Regions from separate parts of the Homo sapiens genome. Here all the other regions are linked to region 6. The links are contacts of gene promoters, found by promoter capture Hi-C in blood cells and fetal thymus (Javierre and others, 2016). All regions are on one chromosome and are shown on one strand. The core of a region is centred on a gene start or on the middle of the fragment in contact, and the rest is flanking DNA. Distances in the headings are between cores, read along the strand shown. Region 1 overlaps CIDEC (cell death inducing DFFA like effector c). Region 2 holds the start of CRELD1 (CRELD disulfide isomerase 1). Region 3 holds the start of IL17RC (interleukin 17 receptor C). Region 4 holds the start of RPUSD3 (RNA pseudouridine synthase D3). Region 5 holds the start of PRRT3 (proline rich transmembrane protein 3). Region 6 holds the start of LINC00852 (long intergenic non-protein coding RNA 852). Region 7 holds the start of JAGN1 (jagunal vesicle mediated transporter 1).

The links. Contacts are between HindIII fragments. The CHiCAGO score rates a contact against its expected background, and 5 or more counts as called.
Region 1: a contact is called between a fragment that was not itself captured here and the fragment with the promoter of LINC00852 in region 6, in 1 of 17 cell types (non-activated CD4 T cells). The highest score is 5.0, in non-activated CD4 T cells.
Region 2: a contact is called between the fragment with the promoter of CRELD1 here and the fragment with the promoter of LINC00852 in region 6, in 11 of 17 cell types (activated CD4 T cells, naive CD4 T cells, non-activated CD4 T cells and 8 more). The highest score is 11.7, in activated CD4 T cells.
Region 3: a contact is called between the fragment with the promoter of IL17RC here and the fragment with the promoter of LINC00852 in region 6, in 2 of 17 cell types (total CD8 T cells and naive CD8 T cells). The highest score is 8.4, in total CD8 T cells.
Region 4: a contact is called between the fragment with the promoter of RPUSD3 here and the fragment with the promoter of LINC00852 in region 6, in 8 of 17 cell types (activated CD4 T cells, non-activated CD4 T cells, naive CD4 T cells and 5 more). The highest score is 9.9, in activated CD4 T cells.
Region 5: a fragment that was not itself captured here is called in contact with the fragment with the promoter of LINC00852 in region 6 in 2 of 17 cell types (naive CD4 T cells and endothelial precursors); the score reaches 6.9 in naive CD4 T cells.
Region 7: a contact is called between the fragment with the promoter of JAGN1 here and the fragment with the promoter of LINC00852 in region 6, in 3 of 17 cell types (total CD8 T cells, non-activated CD4 T cells and naive CD8 T cells). The highest score is 7.1, in total CD8 T cells.

Annotation. Positions count from the first base shown.
Region 1 is chr3:9,868,948-9,872,474 of GRCh38, forward strand. It overlaps CIDEC (cell death inducing DFFA like effector c), which reads right to left. Exons shown (of 7, transcript NM_001321142.2): 5 at 1,217-1,375; 6 at 935-1,122. Among named protein-coding and RNA genes, the nearest start is that of CIDEC, 9.5 kb to the right of the region's middle. The HindIII fragment of the contact is 7,361 bases long and covers 1-3,527 here.
Region 2 is chr3:9,931,626-9,935,083 of GRCh38, forward strand. CRELD1 (CRELD disulfide isomerase 1) reads left to right here and starts at 2,209. Exons shown (of 11, transcript NM_001077415.3): 1 at 2,209-2,295; 2 at 2,795-2,987; 3 at 3,210-3,292. The coding sequence starts at 2,814. IL17RC (interleukin 17 receptor C) reads left to right here. Exons shown (of 19, transcript NM_153460.4): 17 at 983-1,078; 18 at 1,195-1,233; 19 at 1,328-1,996. The coding sequence ends at 1,968. RefSeq lists silencers at 1,181-1,240, 1,821-2,150 and an enhancer at 2,251-2,620. The HindIII fragment of the contact is 19,312 bases long and covers 412-3,458 here.
Region 3 is chr3:9,915,848-9,919,177 of GRCh38, forward strand. IL17RC (interleukin 17 receptor C) reads left to right here and starts at 1,251. Exons shown (of 19, transcript NM_153460.4): 1 at 1,251-1,573; 2 at 1,866-1,887; 3 at 2,076-2,228; 4 at 2,488-2,562; 5 at 2,653-2,762. The coding sequence starts at 1,469. IL17RE (interleukin 17 receptor E) reads left to right here. Exons shown (of 16, transcript NM_153480.2): 16 at 1-550. It also overlaps the pseudogene RNU6-882P. RefSeq lists enhancers at 504-1,043, 973-1,162. The HindIII fragment of the contact is 19,830 bases long and covers 1-3,330 here.
Region 4 is chr3:9,842,626-9,846,062 of GRCh38, forward strand. It overlaps RPUSD3 (RNA pseudouridine synthase D3), which reads right to left and starts at 1,383. Exons shown (of 9, transcript NM_173659.5): 1 at 1,265-1,383; 2 at 840-976. The coding sequence starts at 1,365. RefSeq lists an enhancer at 1,246-1,325. The HindIII fragment of the contact is 7,859 bases long and covers 1-3,437 here.
Region 5 is chr3:9,949,716-9,953,154 of GRCh38, forward strand. It overlaps PRRT3 (proline rich transmembrane protein 3), which reads right to left and starts at 2,693. Exons shown (of 4, transcript NM_207351.5): 1 at 2,607-2,693; 2 at 1-457. The coding sequence starts at 400. The region is part of intron 3 of PRRT3-AS1 (PRRT3 antisense RNA 1); the gene reads left to right. RefSeq lists a silencer at 2,192-2,731. The HindIII fragment of the contact is 545 bases long and covers 1,634-2,178 here.
Region 6 is chr3:10,282,445-10,285,685 of GRCh38, forward strand. It overlaps LINC00852 (long intergenic non-protein coding RNA 852), which reads left to right and starts at 1,975. Exons shown (of 1, transcript NR_026829.1): 1 at 1,975-3,241. It overlaps GHRL (ghrelin and obestatin prepropeptide), which reads right to left. Exons shown (of 6, transcript NM_016362.5): 6 at 3,222-3,241. GHRLOS (ghrelin opposite strand/antisense RNA) reads left to right here. Exons shown (of 6, transcript NR_073568.1): 2 at 1,077-1,159. The HindIII fragment of the contact is 4,911 bases long and covers 119-3,241 here.
Region 7 is chr3:9,888,473-9,892,190 of GRCh38, forward strand. JAGN1 (jagunal vesicle mediated transporter 1) reads left to right here and starts at 2,138. Exons shown (of 2, transcript NM_032492.4): 1 at 2,138-2,339. The coding sequence starts at 2,251. The HindIII fragment of the contact is 18,772 bases long and covers 1-3,718 here.

The sequences.
Region 1 (3,527 bases), core at 773-3,272, 410 kb before region 6:
GGTACATACTACCACTGCCAGCATTTTGTGTGTGTGTGTGTGTGCGCACACACGGGCGTGTGATAAAGACAGGGTCTCACTGTGTTGCCGAGGCTGGTCTCAAACTCATGGGCTCAACAGATCCTCCTGCCTTGACCTCCCAAAGTGCTGGGATCCCAGGTGAGAGCTGCTGCACTCAACCTATCTCATCATTCTTCCTGGACCTGTATATATGTGGGATTTTGAAATCTCCTTTGAGCTGATTGTAACTTCTTGCTAGTTCTCTCATTAATTAATGAATTCAATTAAGTCTTTGACACGTGCTTTTTTTTGTTTTTTTTTCCGAGACAGTCTTGCTCTTTTGCCCAGGCTGGAGTGCAGTGGCAGAATCTTGGCTCACTGCAACCTCTGCCTCCTAGCTTCAAGCGATTCTCCTGCTTCAGCCTCCTGAGTAGTTGGGATTACAGGCATGCACCACGATGTCCAGCTAGTTTTCATATTTTTGTAGAGATTAGGTTTTGCCATGTTGGCCAGGCTGGTCTCAAACTCCTGACCTCAAGTGATCCACCCACCTTGGCCTCTCAAAGTGCTGGGATTACAGGCATGAGCCACCGTGCCTGGCCAACACATGTTCATTTTTATAAAATTGACTAGAAGACTACTTAGGAAAACTTCCTATTTCAATGAAAAAATGTAGTTACTAGAGTGGAAAGTAGTCATAAAAATAAAATGCATCCAGGTTCCACCAGGAGGAACACGTGCACCCCTGGGCACACGCCGGTGTCGTCCACAGCACTTCGAGAGCCCATCAGGCTCCGTGTTGTCTGATACAGGCTATGCTTTGTCAGCACCAAAGCCAGACCCAGGCGCTGAGAAGGCTGAGTCCATGTGGACAGATAGGGGCTCTCCCATTGCCTGTACCCACCCTGTCCCCAGGAAATCCCAATTTGCTCACTTCATGATGCGCTTGGCCCCACAGCAGTGCAGATCATAGGAAAGGGAGTATGTATCATAAAAAGTCGCCTTCACGTTCAGGCAGCCAATGAAGTCCTGTGGGTTCAGCTTGTACAGATCAAACGTTACACGGGCCACATCAATCTTCTTGGCAGGCTTATGGGAGAGGGACAGTGGGTGCCTTGTCCCCTGCATTGAGACAAGCAAATGGTTAGCACCCCTTGAAGACATCTCCCAGAGTCCCGATTTTCTCCCCCATCAGGTGCAACAGGTGGGACCTCACCTGTTCTGATGGGGGCTGCCATTTCTGCCCCTTCTGGAGGACCATGAACACTGTATCCCCTGCCAGGGCTTGGAAGTACTCTTCTGTCTCTACAGTTGTGCCATCTTCCTCCAGCACCAGGAAGAAGGGCTTGTCTGCCAGCATCAGAGTGTCCCGGACCTGGGGAATAAGGTCAGTGATGCTTCTGCCATCCCAGAACAAGTGGGCTGGACTCTATGAGGTGGAACTGGAGCCCAGGCCCTCTGCTGTGGAATCACTACCCAGAGACTTTATCATGGTACCTCTTGGCTCCTGGCTTCAGGGTTCCTAGTCTAGAATAATATTGTCCAATAAAATATAATGTAAGTCACATATAATTTTTAATTGTGATACAGTTTACATACTCTAAAAGTTACCCTCTAAAAGTGTACAATTCAGGGTTTTTTAGTATATTCGCAAAGTTGTGCAACAATCACCACTACCTAATAGTGCAGTGACTACTAGGCTGGAATGCAGTAATCATAAGCATATCATAAGCATAAGTAGAGAGCACATGACATAATTGTAGCTCATTGCAGCCTCCAACTCTTGGGCACAAGCAATCCTCCTGCCTCAGCCTCCCGAGTAGCTGGGACTACAGTTGCATGCCATTACTACCTGCCTAATGTTTATGTTTTTTTAAAGATGGTGTCTGGCTATGTTGCTCAGACTGGTCTCAAACTCCTTGCCTCAAGGGATCCTTCTACCTTGGCCTCCCAAAGTGCTGGAATTACAGGCATGTGCTATCACGTCCGGACATAATTCATTCTTTTTTTTTTTTGGCTAAATAATATTCTACTATATAGATATAACAGATTTTAAAATCTATTTATCAGTGGATGAACGCTTGGATTGTTTATTCTTGACTATTATGAATAATGCTGCTATGAGTTTTTGTGTACAAGTTTTTATATGAACATATGTTTTCAATTTTCCTGGGCATATATACCTAGGAGTAGAATTGCTGAGTCATACATTAACTCTATGTTTAATTTTTTTTTTTTTTTTTTTTTCTGGGGAGAAGGCCTTGCTCTTTAACCAGGTTGGAATGCAGTGGTATAATCACAGCTCACTGCAGCCTCAACCTCCTGGGCTCAAGTGATCCTTCTACTTTAGCCTCCCAAGTAGCTGAGATTACAGGTTTGTGCCATGTTGCCCAGCTAATTTTTTTTTTTTTTTTTTTTTGGTGGAGACAGGGTGCTGCTTTGTTTCCCAGGCTGGTCTCAAACTCCTGGGCTCAAGTAATCCTCCCTGCTCAGCCTCCCAAAATGCTGGGATTACAAGCATGAGCCACCACAATGGGCCTATGTTTAACTTTGAGGAGGTGCCAAACTGTTTTCCACAGTGGCTGCATCATTTTACATCCCCACTAGCAACGTATGAGAACTCCAGTCTCCTTACATCCTCACTGATGCTTTCATTGTCTGTATTTTAGCCAAAAATCCTTATTTTTTTTTCTTTTTTTGAGACTGAGTTTTGCTCTTGTTTCCCAGGCTGGAGTGCAGTGGCATGATCTCGACTCACCGCAATCCCCACCTCCTGGGTTCAAGCGATTCTCCTGCCTCAGCCTTCCTGAGTGGCTGGGATTACAGACATGTGCCACCACACCCAGCTAATTTTATACTTGTAGTAGATACAAGGTTTCTCTATGTTGGTCAGGCTGGTCTCAAACTCCCGACCTCAGTTGATCCGCCTGCCTCGGCCTCCCAAAGTGCAGGGATTATAGGCATGAGCCACTGCACCAGGCCCAAAAATCTTTTTTTCGTTTGTTTGTTTTGTTTTTGGTTTTGTTTTGTTTTTTGTTTTTTTAATAGAGATAGGATCTCACCATGTTGCCAAGGCTGTTCTCGAACTCCTGGATGCTCAGGCAGTCCTCCCGCCTCGGCCTCCTAAAGTGCTTGGATTACAGACGTGAGGCACAACACCCAGCCATATATCCACTTTTTGGTGGATGAAGTGATTTTAATTTGCATTCCCCTAATGATTAATGATGCTGAGCCTTTTTTTTTTGAAACAGGGTCTTGCTCTCTCACCCAGGCTGGAGTGCAGTGGTGCCATCATGACTCACTGCAGTGTCACCCTCCTAGGCTCAAGTGATCCTCCCACCTCAGTCTCCCAAGTAGCTGGGACTACAGGCATGTGCCACCGTTCCCAGCTAATTTTTGTATTTTTTTGTAGAAGTAAGGTTTTGCCATGTTACCCAGGCTGGTCTTGAACTCCTGGGCTCAAGCGATCCGCCTGCCTCCACCTCCCGAAGTGCTAAAATTAGAGGCATGAGCCAATACGCTTGGCC
Region 2 (3,458 bases), core at 959-3,458, 350 kb before region 6:
CTCCCGGGTAGCTGGGATTAATAGGCGCCTGCCACCATGCCCTGCTAATTTTTGTATTTTTAGTAGAGATGGGGTTTCACCATCTTGGCCAGGCTGGTCTTGAACTCCTGACCTCGTGATCCGCCCGCGTCGGCCTCCCAAAGTGCTGGGATTATAGTCGTGAGTCACCGCACCTGGCCCAAATTTATATTTTTAAAAGATCTCTGAGGCTGTCATGAATCAATTCAAGGCAAATCAATTGGAGGTAAAAAAAAAAAAAAAAAGACAGGGCAGGGACACCAGGTAGTTGCAGACACCCAGGACAGCAAGATCAAGGGCCCAGCAACCCTAGCTTAGGGGAGAAAAACAGCTGACATTTTAGCACTTAAGATGCTCGGCATTGTGTTAAGTATGTATTAACACATTGTGTTAAGCTTTATATGTATTAATATATTTAGTCCTCACACCAACCCTATGACACAGGTACAACTTTACAGAGGAGAAAACTGAGGCAGAGGGTGACATTACTTATTCAAAGACCCCTAAACAGATGGAGCTATATTCATCCACTGGCTCTGACACTGTGCTGTGGACTCTGGGCAAATCATTTCTTCGTTTTTTGTTTTGTTTTGTTTTGTTTTGAGAGGAGTCTCACCCTGTCGCCCAGGCTGGAGTGCAATGGCGCGATCTCGGCTCACTGCAACCTCTGCCTCCCGAGTTCAAGCGATTCTCTTGCCTCAGCCTCCCGAGTAGCTGGGATTACAGGCGTGTGCCACCACGCCCGGCTAATTTTTTGTATTTTTAGTAGAGACGGGGTTTCACCGTGTTAGCCAGGATGGTCTTGATGTCCTGACCTCGTGATCTGCCCGCCTCGGCCTCCCGAAGTGCTGGGATTATATAAAGGCATGAGCCACCGCACCCGGCCCAATTCATTTCTGTTAAGTCTCAGTTTTTCTTCTCTGTGGAGGGTAAGTTTCTAACTCTTCTTCTCTGGGTCTCCCAGACATCCACAAGCGCTGGGCCCTCGTGTGGCTGGCCTGCCTACTCTTTGCCGCTGCGCTTTCCCTCATCCTCCTTCTCAAAAAGGATCACGCGAAAGGTGAGCGCTTCCCGGCTCCCCATTCCCCTGGGGGAGGACCAGAGTGGCTGTGGGAGTTCTCCGAGGGAAAGCGGCGGCCGAGCTCACTGGCTGCCTCCGCCCCTCTCCCCTAACAGGGTGGCTGAGGCTCTTGAAACAGGACGTCCGCTCGGGGGGTGAGTGGGAGCAAGCGCTGGGCGGAGGGCCGCCCCCGGGGAGCCAGGCCTGTGCCAGCTCACCTCTTCCCTCCCCATCTGTTTTCTCCGGCAGCGGCCGCCAGGGGCCGCGCGGCTCTGCTCCTCTACTCAGCCGATGACTCGGGTTTCGAGCGCCTGGTGGGCGCCCTGGCGTCGGCCCTGTGCCAGCTGCCGCTGCGCGTGGCCGTAGACCTGTGGAGCCGTCGTGAACTGAGCGCGCAGGGGCCCGTGGCTTGGTTTCACGCGCAGCGGCGCCAGACCCTGCAGGAGGGCGGCGTGGTGGTCTTGCTCTTCTCTCCCGGTGCGGTGGCGCTGTGCAGCGAGTGGCTACAGGATGGGGTGTCCGGGCCCGGGGCGCACGGCCCGCACGACGCCTTCCGCGCCTCGCTCAGCTGCGTGCTGCCCGACTTCTTGCAGGGCCGGGCGCCCGGCAGCTACGTGGGGGCCTGCTTCGACAGGCTGCTCCACCCGGACGCCGTACCCGCCCTTTTCCGCACCGTGCCCGTCTTCACACTGCCCTCCCAACTGCCAGACTTCCTGGGGGCCCTGCAGCAGCCTCGCGCCCCGCGTTCCGGGCGGCTCCAAGAGAGAGCGGAGCAAGTGTCCCGGGCCCTTCAGCCAGCCCTGGATAGCTACTTCCATCCCCCGGGGACTCCCGCGCCGGGACGCGGGGTGGGACCAGGCGCGGGACCTGGGGCGGGGGACGGGACTTAAATAAAGGCAGACGCTGTTTTTCTACCCATGTGGCCCACACGCGTCTCCGTTTCAGTGGCGGGGCTGGCAAACGTCATTCCCTAGCCCCGCGGCCCTTTAAAGCCCGGACAGGTGCAGCTCGGTGCCGCCTCTGGTTGGCTGGCGTGGGGTGACGTAATGGCACATGGCCCGTCGCCATTGGCTGGGCGGCAAGCTCCGCCCCCTGGACTGCGGCGCGGGTGGGGGTTGTGCGTTTTACGCAGGCTGTGGCAGCGACGCGGTGAGGAGACGGCCCACGGCGCCCGCGGGCTGGGGCGGTCGCTTCTTCCTTCTCCGTGGCCTACGAGGGTCTGGATCCTTCTCTGCCGGCTCGTGGGCCGTGCCTTTGCCCTTCTGCGAGGCCCTGAATCTGATCCCTTCCCTTCATATCCGGATCCGGGCTCCTCCCTCCAAGCCCGGGGTTCCGGACACCTCCCCCAAGACAACCCCTCTGGCCTCCTCTCCTTCAGTACTTGGAATCTGATCTCTTCTCCCTAATTCTGCGGATCCGGCCCCTAATATTCTTTATCAGACCCTCAGACAAGAGGCTGACTTCTGCCCCCTTGTCAAGGAGCGAGGCCACTTTCCTCTCCACCCCATGCTAGCGAGGATAACTTATTTCTCTTCTGGAATTGCATCTTATGCGCCTTTCCCCACCCATCCCCACAGCCCCTGCAATACCCAGTTTGGCCTCTTTTGCTTGTAATAACGCAGATCCCAGCGCCACGGCACCTTAGAACAGACCTTTTTCTTTCTCGCGTGGGGCCTGACTCCTTCAGTGAAGCCTCTCCACGCCCTCTATCTGCAGGTCCCCAGCCTGGGTAAAGATGGCCCCATGGCCCCCGAAGGGCCTAGTCCCAGCTATGCTCTGGGGCCTCAGCCTCTTCCTCAACCTCCCAGGACCTATCTGGCTCCAGCCCTCTCCACCTCCCCAGTCTTCTCCCCCGCCTCAGCCCCATCCGTGTCATACCTGCCGGGGACTGGTTGACAGCTTTAACAAGGTGGGTGCACCGGCAGCCTCGTTAGAGGGGAACACAGCGATTTAGAGTGGGGAACTCTGGGATGCAAATCTGCGTGGATTTAAGTTTCATCTTGGTCTCTTACTAGTTGTATGGCCCTAGGCAGGTTGCCTTTCTGTGCCTCAGTTTCCTAGTCAGTAGAACAGTGAAGTGCTAGCATGTGCCAGGCACTGTACTTAGCTATTACTAATTTTCTGTTTCCAGGGCCTGGAGAGAACCATCCGGGACAACTTTGGAGGTGGAAACACTGCCTGGGAGGAAGAGAATTTGTCCAAATACAAAGACAGGTAAGGGGCTGCTGGGGGAAGGGGTGTATATTCCCCTCCCCGCCAAATCTCTGCTCTGCTGGTGTAGGGCTAGGAACTCTTGGGGAGCACTTATTCATTCAACAAATAGCACTGAACATCTATAGTATAGCAGTAAACAAGGCAAGCAAAATGCCCCCTTCCTGGA
Region 3 (3,330 bases), core at 1-2,500, 370 kb before region 6:
GCAACGGACACTGGCTGGAACCCCGGAATGAGCCTTCGACCCTGAAATCCTTGGGGTGCCTCGAGGACGACTGGCCGAAAAGCCGCATTCCCTGCCTCACAGGCCGGAAGTCCCAGCCCAGTCCCCGCGCGCGTCCCTCTTCCTCCTCATACTTTCCCTTGACTGAGAGCTCCTCTAACCCCTGTTCTGATGGGGGAGGGCGGTCTTCCCACTTCCTCTCCAGAACTCCAGAAAGAGCAGTGTGCTTATGCTTCAGTCCAGGCTGGAGAGGTTGGGGCCGGGGTAGGGAGGCAGGAGCCATGTCAGTTCTGAAGGAGGGTGAGGCGGTGGGGGATTGCAGGGGGCGGCTGAGAGAAAACCTCCTTGGGGGCCAGGGATTCCCTTTCCCACTCTGAGGCTCTGGCCAGAGGGAGAGAGGACTCTGGACCTAGGAAAAGAGGCTTTTGGCTCCAGGTGGTCAGGACAGTGGGGGTTGGGGGTGGGGTGGGTGGGTGCTGGCGGTGGGGACCAAGATCCGGAAAGATGAATAAAGACAAACATGACAAACTAAGAAAACACAGTGTGCTTCTCTAGTGTGGCTGGGGAGCCTGCCTGGTGGGGTATGTGTCAGTGTGCTGGCCCAAATCCTCTGTGTCCATACCGCATGGCATCCGTCACATTCTTACAAGCAATGCCTCCAAAAGCAAAGGAGGATGGGGCAATCTCCTTGATCCCCCCCAGTGATTCTTACAAGAGGAGAGGAAAACAGAGGCTTCGCCAGATGGTGTGTCCATCATCACACAGCCGGCCCACAGCAACAGCACAGATGGGACCCCTGTCTGCCAGGCTCTGGGGTCCTGGGTTCCTTCTACTCCCCATACCGCATTTGAGCCAGGCAGTGGTGAAAAGCCCACTTTCTGGTGCCTTTTGTCCGTGCTTTTAGAGCTCCTGTCCCACAAAGGGTTACCGAGGCCCAAAGAGTGTCTGAAGGGACCGAGTGTGCCTAGTAAGGGGAGACTTAGTGGGCCCAGGACTCCAGGGCTGTGTCCTCCTTAGGGCTCCGGGGGTGAGTAAGAGCTCCCTTACTCAGCCGTGATGCATTCGCTGTCTTCTTCAGGGGCCCCTCCCAGCCAGGTGTCAGCAGAGGGAGAGGAGAGCCAAAGAAGGAGGAGGTGCGGCCACCACCCTAGTCCAAGGCTGCTGGCTCCCAAGCCTGGTGTTGGTGGGAGGGACAGAGAGGGGCGGGAACAGCCAGCAGCCTGCCGGGAGCCAAAACGAAAGCACTCCGTGCTGGAAGTAGGAGGAGAGTCAGGACTCCCAGGACAGAGAGTGCACAAACTACCCAGCACAGCCCCCTCCGCCCCCTCTGGAGGCTGAAGAGGGATTCCAGCCCCTGCCACCCACAGACACGGGCTGACTGGGGTGTCTGCCCCCCTTGGGGGGGGGCAGCACAGGGCCTCAGGCCTGGGTGCCACCTGGCACCTAGAAGATGCCTGTGCCCTGGTTCTTGCTGTCCTTGGCACTGGGCCGAAGCCCAGTGGTCCTTTCTCTGGAGAGGCTTGTGGGGCCTCAGGACGCTACCCACTGCTCTCCGGTGAGTCTGGAACCCTGGGGAGACGAGGAAAGGCTCAGGGTTCAGTTTTTGGCTCAGCAAAGCCTTAGCCTGGCTCCTGTCACTGCTGCCACTGCCAGAACTGCCCTGTCTGGTCTGTCTGGTGCTGATGGTAGAAGAGAAGAACGGGGAAGGGGCAAGAGCTGGGTCTGTCTTTCTCTGGGAGGGTCTGGGAATACGGAGCCCCAGAAAAAGGTAGGTGGAGGTCTTAGGCAGAGAACAGTGCCTAGATGGTGGGGGCACAAATTCTGACTCTCCTTTCTTTCCTTCCCAGGGCCTCTCCTGCCGCCTCTGGGGTAAGTATCCCTACTTTTAAAAAGAATTTCCCAGGTTGGCCGAAGGGAGCAGAGCTGTCCCAGGCCCATGCCCTCCATGCCCACCTCAGCCTAGGACAGCCAAGTTCTTTGGCTCTCTGGGTATGTCAGGTGCCACCAAATTCTGGGCTTGGAACAGCTTCAGCTCCCACCCGCTCCTCCACACACAGACAGTGACATACTCTGCCTGCCTGGGGACATCGTGCCTGCTCCGGGCCCCGTGCTGGCGCCTACGCACCTGCAGACAGAGCTGGTGCTGAGGTGCCAGAAGGAGACCGACTGTGACCTCTGTCTGCGTGTGGCTGTCCACTTGGCCGTGCATGGTGAGCAAGTCATCCTGTGACAGTGCATGTGTACACGTGAGTGTGTCTGGGGTGGGCATGAGGGCCAGGGGATCTCTCAAGCAGTGCTAGGCATCCTCAGTGTTCTCCTGGAGGACACCAGCAGAAGGACCCCCAGGCCAGTGTGGTCTCCCCAGCCCCTGCTTCCCAGCACTGGGCTTTCCAGAAGGAAGCCAACGCCAAAGCCAGCCAGCCCAGAGCAGGGGGCCTCACCCAGGGCCTTGCTCTTGGGTCCTTCTAGGGCACTGGGAAGAGCCTGAAGATGAGGAAAAGTTTGGAGGAGCAGCTGACTCAGGGGTGGAGGAGCCTAGGAATGGTGAGGAGAACCTGGCTGGCCCAACTGCCCCATGCCAAGGCCTGGCCTGCCGCTCCTGGGCCTGACTGACCCCTGCCCTGTTGCCCACAGCCTCTCTCCAGGCCCAAGTCGTGCTCTCCTTCCAGGCCTACCCTACTGCCCGCTGCGTCCTGCTGGAGGTGCAAGTGCCTGCTGCCCTTGTGCAGTTTGGTCAGTCTGTGGTATGCAAAATAATAATAATCACCTTCTAAACCTAAAATCTATAAAACTTTTTCACATGCATTATCTCTTTGAGGATTACAAAAGAATTAAATTTATTGAAACCCTTCAGTACCAGGCATTACAGCCAGTGTTTTACAGGTATCAACTTATTTAATTCTCACAACAGCCATGTGAGGTGGGACTATTCTTTTGATTCTGATCAGCGCTGTGGGCAAGTCCCTTCAGCCTGTTATGCCTCAGCTTTTATGTCTGTAAAATGGGGATGAGAATAGTTCTACTTCATATGCTTGACTGCGAGAAATCACCAAGCGTTTTTCAGGGTGCTTCTACTATTTTCCCCTCCTACCAGCAGTGTATGGGAGTCCTAGTTGCTTCCCATCTTTGCCAACACTTGATGGTGTAATTTTATTTTATTTTTAAATTAAATATATTTGAATTTTAAATATATGGGACCCTCCATGAATTTGCATGTCATCCTCAGGCACGGGCCTTGCTAATCTTTTCTGTATTGTTCCAGTTGTAGTATATGTGGTGCCAAAACAAGCATAAGTGTTGTAATTGTCATAA
Region 4 (3,437 bases), core at 133-2,632, 440 kb before region 6:
TTTCTCCCGTTAGAGAGAAATCCATTTCTCCCCTGAGAGCAGAAACCATATCTATCTTTTTCAGCACTGTATAGCCTGCCTAGAACAGTGCCTGGAACATAGCATATGTTCAAGAAATAGTTGAGAAAAGGAATAAATCACTGAATAGAGAGTGGGGTTCAGAGAAATTCAGTTATTTTCCTAAAGCCGCACAGCAAGCTGATCACAGAGCCTAGGTATGTCTGACTCCAAAGCCTGTGTTTTGTCCGTCGATAAATAATCATTATTTATTTATTTATTTATTTAGACTGAGTCTTGCTCTGTCATCCCAGGCTGGAGCGCAGTAGCACGATGTCGGCTCACTGCAACCTCTGCTATCCGGGTTCAAGTGACTCTCCTGCCTCAGCCTCCCGAGTAGCTGGGATTACAGGCGGACGCCGCCACACCTGGCTAATTTTTGTGTTTTTAGTAGAGACGGGGTTTCACCATGTTGGCCAGGCTAGTCTCGAACTCCTGACCTCAGGTGATCCGCCCGCGTCAGCACCCTAAAGTGCCGGGATTACAGGCGTGAGCCACCGCGGCCAATAAACAATAATCTAGTATAGCAACTCCCGTAACTGAGCGCCGGCTATGTGCAAGGCTCGGTAGTTATTTGCATCTTCTCCCCACTCTTAACCCTACTGCATCATGGCAGTAGGGTTAAAAGCGGGGAGAGGGTGCAAATTAGGTGGCTTGTCCCAGCTCATGCTGCTAGTGGGAGGCAGAAGCAGGGCTGATCCCGTGGCTTCAATGGAGAGCCCAACTGCACGCCGAGGCAGTCCCCTCCCGGTCCTTGTGCGGCCGTGCCTCTCACCCCTCACCTTTCCGGTCCACCACGGCTGCCCGCAGCGCATCAACCAGCTCCTCCCGACTGAGGTTTTTTGGCAGCAGCCCCGCGAAGGGCTGGTCCCCGAGGGGCCCCGACCGTTGGCAGGAGCCGCGGGGTTGCCTCTGATGCCTGGACAAGGAGGGAGAAGCAATGGGAGTCATTCCATCCCGAGGTGCCACCCATTCCTATCTCCGGACGCCTCTTCCCAAATCCTGCGGCCTCTGACAAATGCCTCACAATGTCTGGGCTGACCTCGAAAATTCAGGTACGACCGGTCCCATTCTACAGCGGAGGGCACCGAGGCTCAGAGAGGCCAACGGGGCTGTTTTCGGGTAACATCTACCTGATCCAGATCCCGCACGTGCCTTCCCCCTGCCCTAGCCTCCGTCCCGCATGAGAGAGGGGGTACTTAATCACCGGGCTTCGGTGCCAAAGCCTGCGTCCTCGGGCACTGGGCGGACACCCAGGCCCCGCCGCCAGCCACTCCAGAACCGGCCCAAAACACGGCGGCCGTCCATCTCCCGAGCCAGGACAGCGCGCATGTGCGTCCAGAGGGGCAGACCCGCGCTCCAGCCAGCGCGCTGATTGGTCAGCTGGAGTGTCAATCGGAATGGTGACCGGGCGGGACTCAGAGCCTGAGGAGGCGGGGCTTTTCCTCCGCCCAGGAAGGAAATGCAGAAATGCCTTCCTATGCTTTTAGGGAGAGCGCTGTAGCAGAAGAATTTGATCTGATCAAAAAACCTGTCTTAGCAAAAAACCTGAAGCCGCCTTTGCAAAAATTATATTACAAAATTATGACAGCGAAAGAGATCTGATCTAACCAACCCGCAGCTTGCCTTTAACCTCTAAACGGTCCTTGGTCATTCCTGGGCTTGGGCCAAGCTAACTTTGGGAGAAATTAGTTCGTAGTCTAAATGATAATTGCCCTTCCCCCGAACTAAACTGGCTTCATAGAGTTAATGAAAGGCCACCAGGTTAGGAGTAGTAGAGGGACCTGAATTCTGCTAAGGGTTAGAGGTAACTGATTACCAGCGGTTATTCCGGAGGTCACAGTGTTTGCAGCTTCCCCAGCTCACGATTGTCCAACCTGAGATTGGCCTTTGGAGATGTCTTTCCAGGCTTTTGCATTTCTGACGGCCGGATCACCCCACCCGGACCCTCAACTCTTGGCTCTACTAGTCCTGTGGCCCCTCGAAGTCAGGAGATCGAGACCATCCTGGCTAACACGGTGAAACCACGTCTCCACCAAAAATACAAAAAAATTAGCCGGGCGTGGTGGCGGGCGCCTGTAGTCCCAGCTACTCGGGAGGCTGAGGCAGGAGAATGGCGTGAACCCGGGAGGCGGAGTTTGCAGTGAGCCGAGATCGTGCCACTGCACTCCAGCCTGGGCGACGAGCGAGACTCCGTCTCAAAAAAAAAAAAAAAAGAAAAAAGAAAAAGAAAGTAGAAGAACACAGAAAAAAAAGAATAATATAATGACTGCCCACATTCCTACCATCAGAATTAGTCATTGTGAAACAATATATATATGTATAGGTTTCCTGTTTTTCTTGTTTAAGAAATGAAAGGGATAAAAGTAAATTCCCCTTTACTGCGTGCTTCCAGTTTTCACTCCCTCCCCAGTCTCCACTTTGAGTTTGGTGTGAACATTTTCCTAATGTGTTTTGGTTTTTGTTTTTTGGAGACAGAGTCTCGCTCTGTCACCCAGGCTAGAGTGCAGTGGCCCGATCTCGACTCACTGCAACTTCCACCTCCCGGGTTCAAGCGATTCCCCTGCCTTTGCCTCCTGAGTAGCTGGAATTACAGGTGCGGTGCCCGCCACCACACCCGGCTAATTTTTTGTATTTTAGTGACGGGGTTTCACCATGTCGCCCAGGCTGGTCTCGAACTCCTGAGCTCAGGCAATCCGCCCGCCTTGGCCTCCCAAAGTGCTAGGATTACAGACGTGAGCCACTGTGCCCGGCCACTAATGTGTTTTTTTGCTTGCTCTGTCATCCAGGCTGGAGTGCAGTGGCACAATCACAGCTCACTGCAGCCTCAACCTCCCAGGCTCAAACGATCCTCCCACTTCAGTCTCCTGAATAGCTGGGACTACAGGTGTGCACCACCATACCTAGCTTTTTTTTTTTTTTTTTTTTTTTTTAAAGATATGGGGTCTCACGATGTTGCCCAGGCTGGTCTCAAACTCCTGGGCTCAAGATAAGAAAATAAAAATAACAAAATAATTTTTAAAAAATCAAACTCCTGGGTTTAAGGGATTCACCCACCTACTTCGGCCTCCCAGAGTGCTGGGATTAAAGGCCGCACGGGGCCTTTGACAGACACTTCTTTTTTTTTTTCCTTCGAGATGGAGTCTCACTCTGTCACCCGGGCTGGAGTTCAGTGGCACGATCTTGGCTCACTGCAACCTCTGCCTCCTGGGTTCAAGCAATTCTCCTGCCCCAGCCTCCCAAGTAGCTGATACTACAGGCATGCACCATCATACCTGCCTAATTTTTTGTATTTTTTAGTAGAGATGGGGTTTCACCATGTTGACCAGGCTGGTCTCAAACTCCCGACCTCAGGTGATCCACCTGCCTCAGCCTCCCAA
Region 5 (3,439 bases), core at 656-3,155, 330 kb before region 6:
GTGAGTCCAGAGGTCCTGTCCAGCCGTGGGAGCTTGGTCCTTGAGCCATCTGGAGGTCATCAGTTACTGGGAGTCGTTCTCTCTGAGCTCCTTGTGCTGCTTTGGGCCCGTACAGGGCTGGGCCAAGGGGAGAGGCTACAGGCTTCTCAGGCATCTCTTCAGCAGGGGCGTGGCGGACATCAGAGTTCCTGTGACTGTCAGCTCTGGGGTTCTCCGGGAACACGTCAAAGGCCTGGGGCTCTGAGCCCACAGAGCCCTTGGGGTGGGCTCCAGGGATCATAGGGATTTCGGAGTTTTCAAGTGGCCTGGGAAAGCCCCTCCCCAGGGCAGGGCCAGTCCCCAGGAGTGGCAGCAGCAACAGCAGAAGGCCACATACACAGCCCCATGGGCTGGAGGCCATGGTCTACTCCGATGCCTGGGCCTAAAGCCCCCACCTTCCAGTCCTCACTGGATGAGCCTAAAAAAAAAACAGGGCATGGAATGACATGTGAGGGCTGGGGGCCCCCATGCCTTCCTCAAGGGGCTGACAGGAAAGAAAAGCAACGCAAGGCAGCAGCTTCTCTGCTTTTAAAATTGCTGGACGTGGCACTTGCCCTGCTTTAAAACCTTCAGTGGCTCCCCATTTCCCTCAAGAAAGAACATAAGCTCCTCTCCTGGCCTTCCAAGACCCTGGCCACCACAAGCTGTTCATCTGTCCTCCAACACCCACTGGACTGTGTGGCTCCCATGCCTTTTGCTTCTGCTGTTCTGTCAGCAGGGAATGCTCTCTCCCTTCCCCTTCACTTACTGAAATCCTGTTCTTTTTGAGACGGAGTCTTGCTCTGTCGCTCAGGCTGGAGTGCAGTGGCGTGATCTCGGCTCACTGCAACCTCCACCTCCCAGGTTCAAGTGATTCTCCTGCCTCAGCCTCCCGAGTAGCTGGGGTTACAGACATGTGCCACCACACCTGGCTAATTTTTATATTTTTAATAGAGATGGGGTTTTGCCATGTTGGCAAGGCTAGTCTTGAACTCCTGACCTCAGGTAATCTGCCCATCTTGGCCTCCTAAAGTGCTGGGATTACAGGCATGAGCCACTGCACCCTGCCTGAAATGTTATTCCTAAAGGCCCACTTCAAAAATGAGAGACGTGGAGAGGGAGAGGAATATGCACCGGCCTTTGGCGAGGGGCCTGAGTTTGAATCCCAGTGTCTTCATTTCCTGGGGGAGTCATTTCACCTCTCTGCATCATAGTTTTCCCATCAGTAAAATGGGGATAATAAGCATGCCTAACTCAAGGCATGAGACAAATAACCAAACAGGTATGGGCGAGGTTCATACCTGATGCTTGACAAGCGTTACACATTCCTCTTCCCGCCTTCCTTCCCTCATCTTCCTGGGCACTTGTCACTCTGGTCTGATTCTATAATAATCTCCTGCCTCTTATTTCAAACCTGCAGCCTCCAGTATATACCTGGCCCCACGTGGATATCCCCTAAAAGTTCCTGTTCTCGAGAGCCTGTCAGTGGGCCAGGGAGGCAGGAAGGGGCCCCACCACCAGGAGAGGTTTCATGGAGGGTGCGAGAGCTGAAGCCTGGGTGTGTTTGGCGGCAGAGGCCCTGCTCTTTTCCTCTCTGGGGAGCAGCTGTCCCCAAAGCTTCCTGGCTGTTAACCCATGGTGGCTCACAGACACCTTAAGAAGCCACTGAAAACCCCTGGTGCTCTCCCGGGGAAAAGACCCAGGCTCACCGAAAGTTGTGAACAATTTCAAGGGGTTCAAAGACCTTTGAGTCCCATCCTCCAAACTCGAGTTTAGACTCTGTCTTAAAGCCTTGTTAGTTCATTTCTCAAACATTCACGGAGCCCCATGGGCTGCTCCTGGTCTAGGCTAGGTGCTGGGGGCCCAGAGACAGGGCTTTGCTCCAGGGTTGGGAGTAGGGGTGCGCTGAGACGCCCCTAACACAGGTACTGGCTAAAAACAGTGCTCCTGTGTTTAGTTCTTTCCCAGTGAGGCTCCTGCGCTGAGCTTAGCAACACGTCACTCCGCCCTCCCAATACAAGGTGTGGGAACAGCCATTTCACAGGGGGAAGAAACGGGGGTTCAGAGAGGGTGAGCAACTCCCCCAAGGTCACACAGCTGAGTGGACACAATCGGGGTTGTGAAACCCTCGGAGGCTCATCTTCCACAGGAGGTCCAAAAAGCTTTGCCGAGAAAACGGCTGAATGGGGCCTCCAAAGATAAACATGCCATCTGCCTACCACTGCCAACCCAAGAGATGTGGGCACCTGCGGACAAGGCGGGGGCTTGCCCAGCCCTGGGCTCCCACTCTGCTGGAGAGGCTGTGGGGGGTGGCGGATCTCTCTGCCGCAGGGACTGGGGAGAGGCCGGCCTGGGGGCAGGGCGAGGCCGTTGCGGGGCAGCCTCGGAGCTGGTCCATCTCGGGTTACCTCTCCTCCTCCTCCTCCTCCTCCTCCGTCTCCTCTCTCCCTGGCTCCGCGCCTTCCCGCAGTGTCCTGGATGGGGGTGGGCGCCGTGCAGGCCTGGTCGCCTGCGCCCGCGACGGGGGCAGCAGGCCACGCTCCCCGTCGGGGTCCCGCCATCGCCCCCTCCCTGGGCCAGCTCCTCACCTGCGCGCCGCAGCCCCCGTGTTCACCTTGCGCGCGTCCCTGCAGCCGATCGCCGCGCCGCATCCTCCGAGATGCTCAGACTCGGCTAACAGAGCCCGGCGCTGCCGATCGCGAGCCCGCCCACAGGAGCGCAGCCCTGCTTAACTCTTTCCCCTTAGGGGTGGACTCTTCTGTCAACCCTGACTTCCCCTCGCTCAGGGATTGTCAGGGCTCAGAGTGGAACCGAGGTCATCTCTGAGGGATGTGGAAATGTCTTCTGCAGCATCCCTGAAAACGGGGCAGCTAGCCTCTGCTTGCATACCTCATGGGACGGGGAGCTCACTTCCTTTCTATATCCCTACATCCTTTTAGGTAAATCCTACCTACAGCTTGGTATGTATCCTTCAGATTCTTCTCAATGTACAGTTACATGTACATCTTAAATAGAAATGACATCATACTGTATACTTTTTTTTTTTTTTTTTGAGACAGTCTTGCTCTGTCGCCCAGGCTGGAGTGCAGTGGCGTGATCTCGGCTCACTGCAACCTCCGCCTCCCAGGTTCAAGTGGTTCTCCTGCCTCAGCCTCCCTAGTAACCATGCCTGGCTAATTTTTATATTTTTAGTGGAGACAGGGTTTCACCATGTTGGCCAGGGTGGTCTCGAACTCCTGACCTCAGGTGATCAGCCCGCCTCGGACCCCCAAAGTGTTGGGATTACAGGCGTCAGCCACCGTGCCCAGCCACTGTACACATTTCTGTAATTTGTCTTTTTCACTTTCCAATATATTCTGGCACATTTTTCATGTAAATATCTATAGATCTATATCATTTCTTGTATCCACTGTTGAGAATT
Region 6 (3,241 bases), core at 725-3,224:
CGTCCTGAACTTTGTTTCATTTCCTTCACAGTTGAATGTGCAGTTGGCTTTGTCCACTCAGTGATGGTCCTTGTGACTGTTCTTGGCTTTTCTGTTGTTTTTCCATCTTTCTATAGGAAGCTTGAGACCGATACTCATCGTTTGCTTTCAGCACCTTAATTTTGCTTTGTTCATTTTTGTAAAGTAAGGGCAAATGGCCACCGGAATGTACAGTGATTAAAGAAGCAAACTCTGTCAAAGATGGTGATTAGTGGCCAGCCAGTCCCTCTCAGGATCACTGTATTAAAAAGTGCTCATTTGCCAGTGACATTTTTTTTTGGTTTTGGTTTTTTTTTTTTTTTTTTTTTTTGAGACTGAGTGTCACTCTGTCGCCCAGGCTGGAATGCAGTGGCCTGATCTCAGCTCACTGCAACCTCCACCTCCCAGGTTCAAGTGATTCTCGTGCCTCAGCCTTCTGAGTAGCTGGGACTACAGGCGCCCAATACCATGACTGGCTAATTTTTTTTTTTTTAAATTTTAAGTAGAGATGAGATTTTGCCATGTTGGCCTGTTTGGCCTTATACTCCTCATCTCAGGTGATCCACCTGCCTCGGCCCCCCAAATGCCAGTGACATTTGTAGGTGGATTCAGATTAAGGTGGGTAGCTTAGTTGAGGCGTCTCAACCCTTTTCTGTGCACTCTCTCAAGATGATTTCTGAACACACAACTATAAGTGCATGAGAACTTAAATACGTGTGCTCTTATGCTAATTATACACAAAGTAAAAGTTTTTTCACAAGGAGAATTTTTTTCTCCAGCAAATAGCTCGCTCACCCTAGGGGTACATACACCCCACTTTAGAGACCCTCAAGTTACAGTGGTATCATTAAACGATCCATAAAGGAGTGGGTTTAAGAAAGCTGATACAGGAACATGTTTGAAATAATACATTTTCTCAAGGGTGTCCTCCAACCATTTTCTTTGATAAATTATATTTCTGCCCATTGTTGACTTGAAATTGTCCTCACCCCTCTACCAAGTTCACCCAGTGTATTCTGAAGGAAAATGAATGAATATGGAAACCTCTCTCATCCTAGGCAGTAGAGCGAGGGAAGCTGCACTGGCTGAGAGGCTGTGGAACCGGATGAAAAAGCAGCCCCTGAGTCCTGTGGCGTTGGCTGTGAGTCGGCCACGTGCTTGCTGTGTGCTTTAGGAAAGTTACTTAATTTCTCTGAGCTTTAGTTTTCTCCCTCATAAGTAGGCTTGCTGTGAAAATGAAGTGAAATCACATTAATCTGCATGAGCATTTAACACGGTGCCTGGTGTACATCAGGGGTGTGACAGTGAGTGCTGGCTGCTGTAGTAATTGAATGCTTAGCTACGTGCCGGGCCCTTTGCCAGCTACAGCTCATGTGAGACCTCATGTTCAGTCTTGGCAGTAACCCAGCAAGGTAGGCATTTTACATGTGAGGAGCCTGAGAAATTCAGTCTTGGCCTGGATCACAGAGCTGGTATCCAAATTCAGGTCCGAGGCCAAAGCCCAGATCTTTGCACTACACCTTGTTGCCTGGCACAGGTGAGAGTGCCCAGCCCATAGTGGGTGCGCAATATCTGTTTCTATTTGAATGACCCAGGCAGGCGGTTAATAATGCTTGTGATTTCTTTGAGAGAGAAGTAAGTTCTTGTCTTTGGTGGGGGAAGCATCAGGTGACCAGCATTTGTCCAGAGCCTGGTACCCATCCTCTCCCAAGCCCAATCAGTGGTGCTTTCTCAAAAAGAAACCATCTCCTGACCACTTTGGCCATATTGGGCCTTTGCTCCTCTTCTGTAGCTATTGATAAGAGGGCTGTGGGCAGTTAGTGATAATCAAGGTCGTATCCCAACTAAGTGACAGAGCTGAGACAGTTAAGTTCCAGGACAAGTGTGTTGATCTCTGTACCCACTTGTGCCAGGTGCCTGGGGAGGTAGGGGCATGGCTGTCTGAGGGTGGAGGGGTGAGTAGGGGGCCTGCAGTGTGCTGTGACGCCTGGGAAGGGGATTCTAAGCCATTTCCCATCAGCCGTTTACTAAGTAGCCTGGGGATCTTGTTAAAATGCAGATCCTGATAGATTAGGGCTGGGGTGCTGCCCAAGATTCTACATTTCTAAGAGTCCCTGGATGACGGTGGCATTCACAGACCACAGCTTCTATGTGAGGGAGAGCAGTTGGGTTTCTGTCTGCCTGCCGCACCTGATCAGTAGTTAGTGCCTGCATGTGTGGCGGCCAGAATTTTACTTGGGGAGACGCTCGGCTCCTAGCACCCTCTGTGGTAGGGGTTTTCCAGAGTGTGGGCATTACCCCAACTGTCTCTGCAGACGGCTTCCTGCATGTTTCCCACAAGCGCTCAGATGGCTGAATTGGCAAGTCTGTGGTGCTGCTCTTTGGGGCCACCTCGTTCTTTGCCTTTCCCTCCCCTTAGCGATGTGTCCCATCCGTTGCCTACAGTCAAGTCAGTCCACATGTTTAGGCTAAGGTGGGCATGACCGAGTGGCCTTCCCCCGGGAAGACCAGTGTCGTAACTGGAATTAAGTTGTGGAACATAAGAGTCAAGGCTCGTGTCTGCTGTGAACTGGAGTTGAGGGAATGTTTGGGGATCCCACCTGGTATCAGTAAGGGAACCATGGCGACGGCCAGCCTTGCCCATGTGAGGCATTTGCTTTGTCAGGCCTTCTCAGTAGTGGAGAAGGGAGGAAGGAGAATGCAGCTCTTTCAGTGCTGTCTAGCAGTGCCCAAGAGCCGTGATTGGGCACCTCACTTAACGTCTAACTTCAGATTCACTCTTGGGCATTCCTGTCTTCCTCTCCAATCTTGAATGGATGTTGGCTTCGATAATGTCATCCTGAAGTTTCTTTGTCCACACAGCCCTGGCTGGTTGTTAATAAGCTGTTAATGCAGCCTTGCACTCAGGAAGCCCTGATGTTTAAAGGAACTGTGTCTTTGTTCTTCCTCTCTTCCCTCTTTCTCTTAGTCCCACTTTATCTCTTCTTTCTCTTCCTCTCCCTCCTCCTTTTCCCCTCTCCCTCCTACTCTCCCCCTTTCTCTCCTCCTTCTCTAAGAAACCCAGTCTTAATTCCACACAATGCATGCACATGCAGTAGCTTCTCTGCTTGAGTGAGCTGGTGTGATTAGGTTTTCTAAACATGCACATTGGCCTTGCTACTTGTCCTTTTATTCCCTTCCCACAGACCATAAACCAAGAATTATTTTTATTTGTATTATTTTG
Region 7 (3,718 bases), core at 888-3,387, 390 kb before region 6:
CCCCTTGCTGGTCATATGTGCTCTTGTTACCCACCTACAGATGTTAAATCCCAAGGAACTCAAATCTGTTCCTCTCTGTCCATTGCCACCTCCTAGCCCAAGCCACCCCTAGGATTGCCTGAATTACTGCAGTAGCCTTCAAGTGATTCCTCTGCTTCACCCTTGGCCCCTGCAAGCCATTCTCTACACAGCAACTAGATCTATCTTTATTTATTTATTTACAGACAGTGTCTTACTCTGTTGCCCAGAATGGAATGCAGTGGCATAATCATGGCTCACTGTAACCTTGAACTCCTGGTCTCAAATGATTCTCCCACCTCATCCTCCCGAGTAGCCTGGACTACAGGCACGCACCACCATGCCAGTTAATATTATTTTATTTTTTATTTTTGTAGAGACGGGAGTCTCACTATGTTGCCCAGGCTGATCTCCTGCCTTGGCCTCCCAAAGTGCTGAGATTACAGGCTTGAGGCACTGTGCCCCCACCTAGACCTATCTTTTAAAAATGCAAAACTGTGTCATTTTCCTGGTTAAACCTTTTAGTGGTTCCCCAAACCCCCTGGGATAAAGACTTAACTCTTTACTGAACCCTCCAAATGCTCCAGTCACTCTTAAGTTTCTCAGTTCTTTGAAGAGCCAAGTGCTCTCTGGATTTGGGGCCTTCACACATGCTGTTCCCTCTGCCTGAAAAGCTCTTCCGCTCCCCACCTCTTTAGCCAATTCCCACTCAGGCTTCAGACCTCAGCTCAATTGCTGCCACTCCAGAGAGACTTTCCTAACCCTCCAGGTCAGGGAGAGAGGCCTCATTTTTCCTCCCTCAGCCTCCTGTGTTTTCTTGAATTTCTTAGCTTCATGGGTACAAGTTCTTCCCCCGACTGGGCTGGGATCCCTCAGGGGAAATGGACCATGTTTATTTCTGCGTCCCCAGGTCATAGCAGAGCATCCTGGTGCATGGAAGATGCTCACTATACATGCTTTTTTCTTTCTTTTTTTCTTTATTCGGATAATATAACTTCTTTCTTTAAAGTTTCGCTTAGTATTTTGTTGTGGTAAAATGCACATAACATAAAACTTACTATGTTAATCATTTTTAAGTGTACAGTTTCCGTGGCATTAAGCACACACATATAGTTGTGCAATCAGTACCACCATCCATCTCCAGAACTTTTTTCATCTTCCCGAACTGAAGCTCTGTACCCATTAAACACTAGCTCCCCATTCTCTGTCCACCCCTCGAGCTTCTGGCAATGGTCATTCTACTTTGTCTCTACAGATAAAGTTTATTTGGAAATAATTTTTCTTTCATGGCCTTGACATTTTTGAAGAGTACAGTCCAGCTCTCTTCTAGACTGTCCCTCCGTCTGGATTTATGTCATTTCTTCATGATTAGATTCAGTTAGGTATTTTTGGCAGAAACATCATAGAAGTGATGCTGTGTCCTCAGTCTATTAAAAGAGGCACAAGATATCAGTTTATCTCATTATTGATCAAATTAACTGACTATATGTTTAAGGGAGACAAGCCAGATTTCCTCACTGAGAGATTCCCTGTTTCTCTTTGCAATAATTAAATGTGAGAAACTTATTTTGAGACAAAGTCTCACTCTGCACTCTGTCCCCCAGGCTGGAGTGCATTGGCACAATCTCGACTTACTGCAACCTCTGCCTCCCTGGTTCAAGCGATTCTCCTGCCTCAGCCACCCAAGTAGCTGGGGTCACAGGAACCCACCACACCTGGCTAATTTTTGTATTTTTAGTAGAGACGGGATTTCACCATGTTGCCCAGGCTGGTCTTGAACTCCTGACATCAAGTGATCCACCCACCTCGGCCTCCCAAAGTGCTGGGATTAAAGGTGTGAGGCTGTGTGAATGATGTGTGCTCCAGGGAAAGTCATAGAATATATCAGTTTCCCCCTCTGTAAAGTGTGGACAGAAGTATCCTAACTGATATTACAGCTTAAGAAAGTAAAAGTGTTCAAGCGGCCTCTGGGCGCCAGCAAAAGAGGCTGGGGATTAATTTCCTGCGCGCTCCACAAGAGGCGGGGCTGGGCGGGGCGGGGGCGAGAGGGAACGAGGGCGCCTGCGCGGAGAGGAGTGACCATAGAGTCGGTCCTCCAGAGACAGAGGGGCCGGAAGTTCTCTTCACGGAGCCGCGCGGCTGCGGGGGCGCAAATAGGGTCAGTGGGCCGCTTGGCGGTGTCGTTGCGGTACCAGGTCCGCGTGAGGGGTTCGGGGGTTCTGGGCAGGCACAATGGCGTCTCGAGCAGGCCCGCGAGCGGCCGGCACCGACGGCAGCGACTTTCAGCACCGGGAGCGCGTCGCCATGCACTACCAGATGAGGTATGAAGTGAGGCGAGGAGCACGGAGGCTTTCTCCCCCGCTGGAGCCTGCGGGGCTTGGGGAGCGACGCCGGCCCGGCCTCAGGGTCTTGCTCCCCAGCCAGCCCCCGCTCACCTGCCAAGTCCCCTCCTCCCGTGACGGCTTCGGGCCTGTCCCCCATCCTGGAAAGCCCCGTGGCCCCCGCGAGCTCCACCCCTTGTTCCGCCCGGTGCCTTGAGGGGATCCAGCCCCGCGTGGGCTCCCGCCCTGCGTGGGCTCCCGAGTCACGTCGATGCTGGCCCCGCTGTATCACCTTCGAAACCGAATTTCTAATTTGAGCCTCAGCTTCCTCATCTGTAGAGGGAGAGAATAATCTGCCTTTTAGGTTTTGGTGAAAGATTAATCAGTAATTCGTGTAAAGAAAGTAGCATAAGGCCTACCACGTAATATATGGTAGGTGTTATATTTTGGGCCGTTTGGGGGGATATAGACAGTAAAAGGCAGCCTTTCCTAAGGACGCCTTGCCTAAAATGAATTTTATAAACACTCCCACGTAAGGGGTATTTCTACATTCAATTACTAGTTCGACAAATACTGAGCTTCCAAACATCATACACTGCTAGACACTAGGTTATAATAGTGAGCAAAAGCAGACGTGGTCTTTGTATACATGTTATACCTTCAATAAACAATTTTATTAAAGAAAAAAAAAACTGTTCCCTGCCTTCATGGAGCTTGAAGTCTAGAGATGACTGTTTTTTTTTTCCAACCTTTCCACATTTTCTACAATAAATATTTTTAAATAAAAATTTTAAAATTTTTACTTCCTTAAATCCATTGATCTCTCCCAGAATGTTCTTCACATCTCTCTCTCCAGAGTTTTAAAGAATGACAAGCTCTTTGAACTCTCATTTGTTTCACATCTCTAGGCCCCGGCTGAAAGGGCCCTCACAACTTAAGCAGGTGTTTTCATGCCAGCCCAGAGTAGAAACATTGCCTTTAGGGATATGAGGAGGATACGTTTGGGACGTGAGAGAATTAGAAGAATAAGATAAGTATGTACTTCTTTTGGATGAAAAAATCTAGCTGGAGAAGTATGGGCGGCCTGAGTACGTTTCCTCTCTGCCAATACCTTCTCCCGCCAGACTTTAATCCTATGGTGCAGTCAGCGTCCTCTTGCTAAACACAGCTCTGAGCTACCCTTCTGCCTTTATTATTATTATTAATTTATTTATTTATTTTTGAGACGGAGTCACGGTCTGTCGCCCAGGCTGGAGTGCAGTGGCGCGATCTCAGCTCACTTGTAAGCTCCGCCTCCCGGGTTCACGCCATTCTCAGCCTCAGCCTCCCGAGTAGCTGGGACTACAGGCGCCCGCCACCACGTGCTGCTAATTTTTTTG